3 separate regions of the Homo sapiens genome follow, and all the other regions are linked to region 1. Evidence: promoter capture Hi-C in 16 types of primary human blood cells and fetal thymus (Javierre and others, 2016). All regions are on one chromosome and are shown on one strand. Each heading gives the region's core, a stretch centred on a gene start or on the middle of the fragment in contact. The rest is flanking DNA. Distances are from core to core; before and after follow the strand shown.

Region 1 (3,632 bases), core at 1-2,500:
ATCCCTGTTTTTAGAAACAGCCTGACCCTCCAACAACAAAGTGTCAACCTAAATAACAAACAGAGAGAAGCTCTCTAAAAGAAAATGATATGTATTCAGGAATGGGGCATTGCAATGGGAATCTGGGTGCTATAGTAAACTACGTGCATATTCAGGGAGGTAAAAGAACACAAAGGGTTTTCAATGGAAAAATGAGGAGGACCCCATAAATGGTTTGAGATAATTACCCTAGGCTACAAGGATCCCTAATGAGGGTGACGTCAGTCCAAGTTTGGACCGGAGGTTGCTGTCCAAATACTTGTCACAGAAGTATTTTTTTGGTGGAAGGAAGCAATGGCTTTTGTGCAAGACTATGGTTTCTGCAGCGTCTTCTGTGAAAATTTTTGTTGTCAGAGAGCCCTCGCTTCACAGCCTTCCCCACTGTATTTCTCAGGGATTTTTTTGGCTTGTGAGCACTTTCACAAAGGGATCTGGTTATACACACACTGGTTCAGGTCTAGAAGAGCATTCCCTGCAGCCATTCACAATGGTCATGGGAGGAATATTTAGTGACATAGAGAAATAGTCCACTGTTGAGGAGGAAAGCAGCCAGTTGTAAAACAGCCCCAGGCAGTCTAAAAGTTGGGCCCTACACCGGGCACGGTGGCTCACACCTGTAATCTCAGCACTTTGGGAGGCCGAGGTGGGCGGATAACGAGGTCAAGAGATCAAGACCATCCTGGCCAGCATGATGTAACCCCGTCTCTACTAAAAACACAAAAATTAGCTGGGTGTGGTGGCACGAGCCTGTAGTCCCAGCTACTCGGGAGGCTGAGGCAGGTGAATCACTTGGACCCGGAAGACGAGGTTGCGGTGAGCCAAGATCATGCCATTGCACTCCAGCCTGGTGACAGAGCGAGACTCCGTGAAAAAAAAAAAAAAAAAAAAAAAGCTGGGCCCTGCATAGGAAAACCAAACCAAATGGAAACAGGACATACAGTTGAGGAGTTTGATGTCCTATCTTTGAGGCACTTGGCTGTATTTTCTGGTTTTCTTTGTTTTCCCAACAGTGAGCCTGTGTTTTTCCGTTTTTTCATGACCAGAGAAAAAAATGTAAATTATTATAAAAATAAGTAAATAAATAATGAACTAAAGGCAACATAAAGCCATAAAGATAAGGTTGGGCTCTCAAGAGCCGTCTTCCCCAGGCCCCACCCCTGCTGGTCAGAGTGCACCCTGGGGAGGAAAGGCCGCCCTGAAGGCTGGGAGACGAGACCGGCAGCCTCTGTGCCAGGAGACACAGGTCTTGGAGGGAGCAGAGGAGGTGGCTGTGTCTCTGGAGGGACCCCTCCTCCTGGAGGACCCCAGGCAGCTCATGGACCTTTCCAGACCCAGATGGAGCCTGTGGAGGAGGGTCTTCCTCATGGGTAAGAGATGCTGGATGCTGGATGAGCTTCCCAGGACTGAGGGAAGGGCAGCTAGGAGCAAAGCGGCGGGGAGGGGGCTGGGACCATCCCCATCCACGGGCACATCAAGAAACTCCCAGAGCAGGGGTCGGGGAGAGGAGAAGGGGGAGGACCCTCAGCACAACTTTCATGAGCTCACACACGTGGGCACACTTTGCCCCTAGACACACCCCTGCACAGACCCACACATGTGGTGTTACACACACACGCACACGCACATGCACACACACACACGCGCGCACACACAGAGAGAGAGAGAGAGAAACTGTGTTTCTATCTACGCCCAGGAATCAGGAGCTTGGACCTTCACCCTCACCTCCCTGCACTCACCTCCCACTGGGTGCCCCAATCTGCCCCATCCCCTCCCCCACCTCTCAGGCCAGATTCCTTCCCAGCCCCTCACCTTTGCCCAGGACCTTCTGTGCCCCCTACAAGCACAACTGTCCTGCTTTACCACGTGTACTGTCCTTGAACAGGTCCAGTGTGTCCATACGTGAGGCCTAGAGCCGGGGTCTCAGGCATCTCTGCCTCCTCCACATAGCCCAGGCTTGGGGTTCACAGGGCAGTGGACAACTGCCCATGTCATATGTGGTAACAGGCTGCCGCCTCCATTCACACCCACTCCAGTGAATTTAGATGCAAAATCAAAGACATGTAGAAATTCTCGGGGGAGTATTTCTCACCCAGACAATCATTACTGAACTCCCCCTGTGTCCAGCCTGTGCTCAGGGGCGCTGGGGACTCAGTGGTGACTGAGACAGGGCAGTCCTGCCCTCCTGGAGCCCACAGTCCAGGGCGAGATATAGATATGTGCCCAGACTCTGAGGACCCCCAGAGGTCATGGCTGGGATGGGGGGAGCCCAGGAGGAGCTGGGGGAGCCCAGAGGGGACACCTGACCCAGGCTGGGGTGGAGGAGACATCCAAGCTGAGACCTGAGTGATGAATAGAAGTGAGTCAGCAAGGAGGGTGCAGATGGAGAGGAGGGAGAAGGAGTCCCTGCCGGGAATGGGGAACAGCGTGTGCGAAGCCTGGAGTTAGGAGAAGGTGTGGTGCACCAAGAGAGCTATGTAGAGGCCTGGGGCATACAGCGTGGCAGTCATGTCTTCTGATAAATAACTACAGGAATAAATGAGTAAAAGGTGCATAGTGGGGACAGGATGGGGTAGGTGTGCACCACAAGGAGGCTCGATGAGTCACAAACACCAGCTCTGGCTGAGAGTGTTTCATATACCCACCTAAGAGTTTGGACTGTATCCTAAGAGCACTGGGGAGCCATGGAAGGTGTTTGAGCAGAGGAGAACAGGGTCGCAACTTGGGCTTATTAACATTTACGTAACTGTGATGTGAGGATGGATTGGAGGCTGTGTGGCTAGCGAGGAGGGCCTGGGAGAAGATAAGGGTAAAATGGACCACGGCAGGGGCTGAGGGGAGGCACAGGAGGGGACAAGCTGGGGACTCTACCAGGAGCCAGAAACTCTTGCCTGGTTCACCAGCGTCTCTGGGAATCGTTCCCGGATGGTGTCTTTTTTCCTTGTCTTCTCAGCCAGTCTGAATCTCTTTGTGAATTTCTCTCTGTCTTTTTTCCTTGTCTTCTTCAGCCAGTCTGCTGGCCTGTGGGATCTGCCAGGCCTCTGGCCAAATCTTCATCACCCAAACCCTGGGGATCAAGGGATATCGGACTGTCGTGGCCCTGGATAAGGTCCCTGAGGATGTTCAGGAATACAGCTGGTACTGGGGTGCAAACGACAGCGCAGGAAACATGATTATCAGCCACAAACCGCCCAGTGCCCAGCAGCCTGGGCCCATGTACACTGGCAGGGAGAGAGTGAACAGAGAAGGCAGCCTGTTGATCAGGCCGACTGCATTAAATGACACGGGAAACTACACTGTTCGGGTGGTTGCAGGCAATGAGACCCAAAGAGCAACCGGCTGGCTGGAGGTTCTAGGTGGGTTAGCAGGTGCTGTGTTTCCCAACCCCCAAGGAGAGCTAGATGTGACACATTTGAGAGAAGGACATTATACAGAGCATGACACCGGGAGTGGAAATCACGGAGCCGCCCTGGAATCTTGTGTACCATGGACAGCTCCTGGGGGATCTGAGGGCTAGTGGGAGGAGAGGGCGGAGTTGGAAGACAAGCAGTCCTGTATTTGACAGTGGCTGCAAATACATACTGCAGGACCCTGGC
Region 2 (3,632 bases), core at 614-3,113, 61 kb before region 1:
AAGAAGGTCGGTCTCCGAGGCCTGGGGCTCCAGGCCCCCTCAGCTCTGGGACCCTGAGCCCAGCCCCTGTATCCCTCTGCCCTCCCAATGGACTCCAGGCCCCTGCTGGGCACACTCACACTGCACAGAGAGGTCCAGGGCTCGCTGCTGGGAGCCAAGCCTGTTCTCCGCTCGGCAGGTGTAGCGCCCTGAATCCCCAGCCTTCACCCCGGGCAGCTCCAGCCCCAGGGGTCTAGGGCCCCAGGGATGGGACGAGGAGAGGACTCTGTTCTGCAGGACCCAGCTCAGTGTGGCAGGGGGCTGGCTGTCAGCAGCACAGAGGAGCCGCAGGAACTGGCCTTTTTGGGCTTCCAGGTATGGGACATTTCCCTGGGGCTGGGGCTCCAGGGCTGGAGTGGGAGGAAAAAAAAAAAAGAGAGAAAGGGAGGGAGAAAGAGAGAAGGGGTACAGGGAGGAGCACATCCCCTCATCCCCTGAAGCCTTTTCATCTAAAGACAACTGGCCCAGCCCCAGCCCGACGGCCCTCAGTACCTGGCGTGTTGTCACGTGAAATGCTGATAACAAGGTCTCTGGGGGCATCTGCAACAAGATTGTGAGCTGGCTTCAGGGAGGGACAATTTATTCCTCACACCTGGAAAAAACTCCCTCAGGGAAAAGAAAGTGGGACTATCCCGGGAAGACAAGTGACAACCAGCGCCAGGGCTCACGTGTGTGGACCAGACGCCATTCCCATCCCCCTCCCAGGGCTGCGGCGGCATCCTGGGACCCCACAGCTTCCTCTCCCTGGATGCTCCTGAGCTGGGAGCCGCTCACTGTCCCACTGGGCTCCTCCACCTCCCCACCCACCGGGGCTGTCTGCACACCCCACCCTCCCAGGCCACACTCACAGGCCACACGGAGTCGGACGGTCCTCTGTGCGCTCACACCCTTTCTGGAGAAGTCCACATGGCAGGTGAGGTCGGTGTTGTGGTCCTGGGGTCTGGGCGTGAAGCTGAGCACTGAGAAGTGGGAGGTCGTTGGTTTGGTTCCTTGGGAGGAGAGGGCAGCCCCCGTCCAGGAGAAAGAAGGGGGTGGACATTCCTCAAAGGCCCAGTTAAACACACAGATGACCGTCACCGGCTGCCCGGGCTCCAGGGTCTCGGGGATGTAGACATCAGGCTTCTGAGTCAGGGCTGGGACAGAGACCGTGGTGGGAGATTCTTGTGCTGCAGGGGTCCCTGAGAGCCCTCTCTGCTCAGCCCATAGGCTGTCCCCAGGGTCCCTCCCCAGTGTGAGAGGCAGGGGTTCCCACCCCATTCCATACCTGTTACTTTTAGAAAGAACCCATCGTTCATGAAATTATATCTCACATAGCTTCCTCTCTCCACCCGAAAGAAGTACTGTGACTCATCCTGCATCTGCGCGTCTCTGATCACCAAGGAGCAGTTCCCCTTGGCGGGATCCCCAGTGAGCTGGAATCGGCCCCGGGTGCTCATTTCCACCTCTCGACTCTGGTGGTTTGTGGCCACAGGAGCACCCTTGGTTGTCTCAGTCACTGCTTTGAACCAGTAGCCATAAGCTGGGGTAGACCCTGTCCAGTCCTGTCGGGGGTAGGAGAAAGAGCAGGGCACAGAGATGCACAGGCCCTCCGGCACCATCACTGACTCCTGCACTCGTATCCAGAATCTCCCATCCATAGCCTGGGACCCTGTGGGGAGACAGAGGCTCAACCTGCAACCCCAGCCCTAGCTCCGCCCCAGGTCCTTTCCGGCCCTTGGCCCACTCACCGCCCAGCAGCGAGGACAGCAGCAGTGGCAGTAGCATCTCCGCATAGGAGGCGCAGGGCCTGCCTGAGACAGGCCTGTTCTCTGGTCGTGCTGTGAGTGGCTCAGGGCTCTTGGCAGAAGGGGAAGCCGAAGGCGGAAGCTGAGCCCTGGGGCCTGATGCATGAAATGAGCTTCAGACGCTGAGCTCACAGAACTCCTTTGCCTTCCCCCACACTCTCCGGCCCACCTTGCCCAGTTGTCCTCTGGGTCTCCTGGGGGCCCAGCCTGGCCTTGGGCTTGTTGAGCTGGTCCTTCCAGAGCTCCCTGTGTAGGAGGAGAGGGCAGGCTTGTGTCTATCCTGGGGGCCTGGCTGGGGGTGGGGTAGTGGGGTGGGGGCTCTCCCTCTGGGCCCTGGGTCATCGGAAAAGCAGAAGTGAGAAGTCCACAGTGAGCTACCCTTATCTGGGCCACTGGTGGTGGAGGTGGTGGGTACAGGGGAAGGGACCGTTACTGGAGGGGGCTGGTCTTGTCAGGTAAAATGCAGGATGCCTGGTTAAAGCTTTCACAGACAATATAAAGTATTTTATTTTATGTTTTTTGGTATAAGTATGTCCGAAATGCTGCATGGGATATACTTATACCAGAAAGCAAAATAAATTTATCTGAAATTCAAATTAATTAATTAATTAATTATATTTTGAGACAGAGTCTCACTCTGTCACCCAGGCTGCAGTGCAGTGGTGCAATCTCTGCTTACTGCAACCTCCACCTCCCAGGCTGAAGTGATTCTCCTGCCTCAGCCTCCTGAGTCTGGGCTTACAGGCACGCGCCACCACGCCAAGCTAATTTTTGTATTTTTAGTAGAGGTGGGGTTTCACCATGTTGGCAGGGCTGGTTTTGAACTCCTGACCTCAAATGATCCACCTGCCTTGACCTCCCAAAGTGCTGAGATTACAGGTGTGAACCACCGCACCTGGCCTAAAATTCAAATTTAACTGAGCATGTTGAATTTCTTTTTTTCTAAATCTGGCCACCGTAGGGTGGTGTCAGCTCCACCTCTTCATGCTTCCTGGTGAGCTCACTGACCCTTGGTCCCCAGAAGCAGTCTCCTGCCCCAACCAGGCCCTAGTCCACTTCCCAGTCTCCCTTCCTCCTCTGTCATTCAATTGGGACACCCATTGGGATTAGAACACATATGTCCAAAGCTAATGCTGATGGGAAGAGTTTGAGGAAGGCGGGAGTGAGGGGCAGAGTGGGGGGAACAGACTAGGGAAGGGGTAATTTGCAATGAATGGAGTAAACTCTACAAGATGTTTTCCCCTCACTGAGCTCTTCCTGAAATGACTCTGTTTGGGTCACACCGAAACACAGAACTCATCCTTCAACCTCCACATACCTTGGGTATCAAGCACTGAGCTTTAGGGGGACTTGGAGGTGAATCCTCCATGGTGAGTCAGCTCCAGGGCCCCAGGTTAGCAAATGAAGATTCTTAGAAACAAAGTACAGAAGGTCCCCTAAATGAACTGGATGCTGGACAGACATTCAGGATGGGACCTGGGGAAGGAGTGGTCAGCTCTTCCTGGTGGAGGGAAGTCAGGAGAGGCCTCCTGGAGGAGATGACCCAGCCTCTGCCCTGTCCTGGTTCTTTCATCCATGGCATTTTTGTTTTTTGTTTTTGAGACAAGGTCTTGCTCTGTTGCCCAGGCTGGAGTGCAGTGGTGTGATCATGGCTCAGTGCAGCCTCCATCTTCTGGGCTCAAGCGATCCTCCCACCTCAGCCTCCCAACTAGCCGGGACTATAGGCACACACCACCACGCCCAGATAATTTTTGATTTTTTTTTTTGATAATTTTTGTAGAGACAGAGGTGTTTGTTTGTTTGTTTGTT
Region 3 (3,632 bases), core at 449-2,948, 35 kb after region 1:
CAGCTCATTGCAACCTCTGCCTCCCGGGTTCAAGCGATTCTCATGCCTCAGTCTACCTAGTAGCTGGGATTACAGGCATGTGCTGGCACGCCTGGCTAATTTTGTATTTTTAGTAGAGACAGGGTTTCACCATGTTGGTCAGGCTGGTCTCCAACTCCTGACCTTGTGATCCACCCGCCTCAGCCTCCCAAAGCGCTGGGATTACAGGCAGGAGCCACCGTGCCTGGCCTTGTATTTTTTATTTCTTAGTTAATTTCACTGGCTAGGACCTATACTACAATGTCGAATAGAAATAATAGGGCAGATATTCCTTCCTTTCTCCCAATCTTAGGGGAAAAAGTGTTCAATATTTCTTTATTACGTATGATGCTAATTGCAGGTTTTTAGATGCTCTTAATCAAATCGAAGTTTTTCTCTTCTAGTCCTAATTTGTTGAGATTGTTTTAAATTATAAATGTGTTTTAAATTCTGCCCAGCGTTATTTCTGGAGTAATCAAGAGGCACATTTGATGTTTCTCTTTTATTCTGGTAGCGTGGTGAATTACATTTATTTTTGGATGTGAAACCCCACTTGGTCATCATGTATTACGTCAATTTTATTTGTTGGATTGGATTTACTTATATTTAAATGAAGACTTTTCTATGTTCATGAGGTGCAGTGATCTGCAGTTTTCTTTTCTTGTAACGTCCTCATGAAGCTTTGGTATCAGGTTTGAATTTTGCCTCATGAAATGAGTGTTTTCTCCTTCTCTATTTACTGAGGGAGTCTGGGAAAGTTTGATATTATTTCTCCTTTAAATGTTTCGTAGAATTCCACATACAGTGCCATCATGATTAATTAATTACCTATGATTGAGTGGCTATTAAGCAAATGCCTTGAAGGATCGAATGGCGATGCTATTCACTGCTGTGTGAGCATTAATGACCACAAAGACTGTGTGGTAAACTCTCTGCTCCTAACTCTGCTGGAAAACCTGCAAAGGGCAAGTGCCAAGCTCAGGTCTTACCTTGTAGGTCAAGTTATGGTTGTAAACTACAGAAATGCCTTATGACTTCAAACAATTTCATGTCATTTGACTATGGGGACAATCTTGCAAAAAAAAAAAAATCAGACCCCAAATTTAATTGTATTTATTGAAGAATTACGACATAATTTGAATTTAAAGATTTGTCTGCGCTTCTTATAGGAAATTTAGGGCAGTTATTGGAAAGGACTGAGGGGCTTGGGCTTGGAAAGGGGTCTTGCATGAAGATCAAGTACCCAAGAACATGTGGATGACCCCTATGCATGGTCTTTGGATAAAGTCGAAAATCTTCAACCCCCTTGCCCCAAGACTTTTTGAAACTCTCTTGATACCAGAATATAGCCTGATTTCCTTGGTCTGGAGAGATTAGTCTTTCCTTACTGGAAGACTCTAATAATTCTGCTTGGAGAGATTGCCCAAGCACAGGAAGGTGCTGAGTCTCTTCAAAACTCATCCCAATCACTATTCATTCCAGACCAAGAATAAAATGCAAGTCTCTTCCATGGGGTAAATGCAATGCCCGACCCTTGAGAAGATCTTACATTCTAAAGGAATTATTGGATTCTCTGATTTATATCAGCAGACACCTGAGAAATATATGTTAAAGTGGACACTAGGAATCTTAGACCAACAAAGATAAAATATTACACTGGCTTAGCCAAATATATTGATACGGGTGTACTAACAAAAGATTACAGATACAATGTTTTGGCTCAAGAAGCTCTCAGGTGGATGAAGGAATTTGCTTTATGTTTGATTGAAACAATATTATCACTATATTCCAATGAAAATGGACTCAACAATGACCCAAATTTAACGAGGATGATGTCAGAACTTTCTTGGCATAATGGAGAAAAAATAACCCAAAGGTTTAGAGAGTTAAAAATGTTGGAAAATAAAAAATGACAAAAGTTCAACCTGTACCCTCATCTCCTCTGCTCTTACCCCTCAAGTAGTATACTGGTAAAGACAGCACAAGTGTCCATGAAAAGCTCTGTGAAGACTAACCTGGTTCAGCCTATTTTTTTTCACCTTATATATTCTGAAGCCATTCTTTGCCTATTTTTGCCTTACATATTCTGAAGCTATTTTATCATGTGCAGGTAAATTTCTAATGTATCTTCCTAGTATATTGAATATTTAATCCTTAAAAAATTGGCCCTTTTATCTCCATTAACACTTTGTTTGGTAAAAGATATATTTTCTGATATTGACATACTTATGATGGTCAGTTTAATGTGCCAATGTTTCTAGGTTATAGTCCCCAGAACATTCAATGAAACGTTAATCTAGGTGTTGCTGTGAAGGTGCTTTGTACACAGGATTAAGATTTATGATCAGTTTATTGGGGATGACAGAAAGAAATACTGCAACGGATATAATCACACTGCTTTCAATCAGGATGATGGAATTGTCAAAGGCAATGTGTCATTACTTAATCCCTAGAGATAAGTTGAGCACATTAGCTTTAAAGAGGATCAGAGATAAAATGGGAGGTCATCCTACCCCTACCAAAGAAGCTCAATTCTTGATAGTCACCTTTGGATTTTGGAGGAAATGTACAACTATGATTGGATGCTCTAACCCACTTACTACGTAAATCTTAAGACTTCCAGTTTGGAGTTGTTCTCAGTTCAAGGAAAGGCTCTGCAGCAGGTCCAGGCTGTAGTATAAGAAGCTTTACAACTTGAGGTTTATAACTCAAGATTAAATTATACTTGAATTATCTGGAATAATTAAGAATGTCGGTGTGCCCCAGAGTGAAGACCCCTAGGACTTTTGTTGCAAAGCCATGCTCTGTTTTTGAGAACATGATGGATCTCTTGAGAAAGAGCTTCTGACTTATTACCAGGCCTTGGTAGAGACTGATACCCTTACTATGGGATATGAAGCGAATATATAATACAAACTGCCCATCATGAAGTAGGTGCTCTGTGACCCATCAAGCTAAAAGGTTGGGCATGTGAAGCAATAATCCATTATGAAGTGAATTTGGATATGATATAACTGACTTCAAGATGGGCTTCAAGAAGTCCAGAAATCACAACCAAGTGACATGAGCAGGTGACCCAGATTCCTACAACTCCTCCTGGGATATTGCCTTATTTTTTCATGAAATCACATGTGTGACCTCATGGGCAGTTCTTTATGGCCATTGCTTGAGGAGGAAAACATTTCATCTTGGTTTTCAAGTGGTTCTGCTCAATCAACTGGCACAGCAAGGAGTGGACTTTTGCATCATGACAAACTCAACCACAGTGAACCTGAGAGCGGGACTGAAGGAACTCCCCCTAGTGGCAGAATTTCATAAATACATTTGGCTTTTCATTTTGAGACTGAGAGGTCAGAAGGACAGATACAAACTGAACCATGCCTACAGCGTTAGGTAACACATTTTTTCCCAGAAATTTGTCCATTTTCTATAAGTATTCAAAACTTTTCATACAGCTTACTACTTTCTGCTTATTTTGCATTAGATTAAGTAATGTTTTCTCCCTTATATTCCTGCATACTAGTTATTTTTGCCTTCTATATTTCTGGACTAATTGCAACTGAGGTTTGCCCATTTTATTATTTGTATCAAAAACTAGCTGTTCGTGATGTTGT

The links. The method cuts DNA at HindIII sites, captures the fragments that hold promoters and counts their contacts. A CHiCAGO score of 5 or more calls a contact.
Region 2: a contact is called between the fragment with the promoter of SIGLEC10 here and the fragment with the promoter of CEACAM18 in region 1, in 4 of 17 cell types (activated CD4 T cells, non-activated CD4 T cells, naive CD8 T cells and 1 more). The highest score is 7.6, in activated CD4 T cells.
Region 3: a contact is called between a fragment that was not itself captured here and the fragment with the promoter of CEACAM18 in region 1, in 8 of 17 cell types (megakaryocytes, monocytes, M2 macrophages and 5 more). The highest score is 14.5, in megakaryocytes.

The regions. Positions count from the first base shown.
Region 1 is chr19:51,477,289-51,480,920 of GRCh38, forward strand. It overlaps CEACAM18 (CEA cell adhesion molecule 18), which reads left to right and starts at 1,251. Exons shown (of 6, transcript NM_001405061.1): 1 at 1,251-1,406; 2 at 3,045-3,392. The coding sequence starts at 1,355. The HindIII fragment of the contact is 9,749 bases long and covers 1-3,632 here.
Region 2 is chr19:51,415,779-51,419,410 of GRCh38, forward strand. It overlaps SIGLEC10 (sialic acid binding Ig like lectin 10), which reads right to left and starts at 1,864. Exons shown (of 11, transcript NM_033130.5): 1 at 1,767-1,864; 2 at 1,304-1,687; 3 at 888-1,172; 4 at 532-579; 5 at 120-389. The coding sequence starts at 1,803. It overlaps SIGLEC10-AS1 (SIGLEC10 antisense RNA 1), which reads left to right. Exons shown (of 3, transcript NR_164125.1): 1 at 1-354; 2 at 651-952; 3 at 1,354-2,419. RefSeq lists enhancers at 1,794-1,963, 2,024-2,093. The HindIII fragment of the contact is 3,908 bases long and covers 1-2,302 here.
Region 3 is chr19:51,511,769-51,515,400 of GRCh38, forward strand. No RefSeq gene overlaps it. Among named protein-coding and RNA genes, the nearest start is that of SIGLEC12, 12 kb to the left of the region's middle. The HindIII fragment of the contact is 2,005 bases long and covers 697-2,701 here.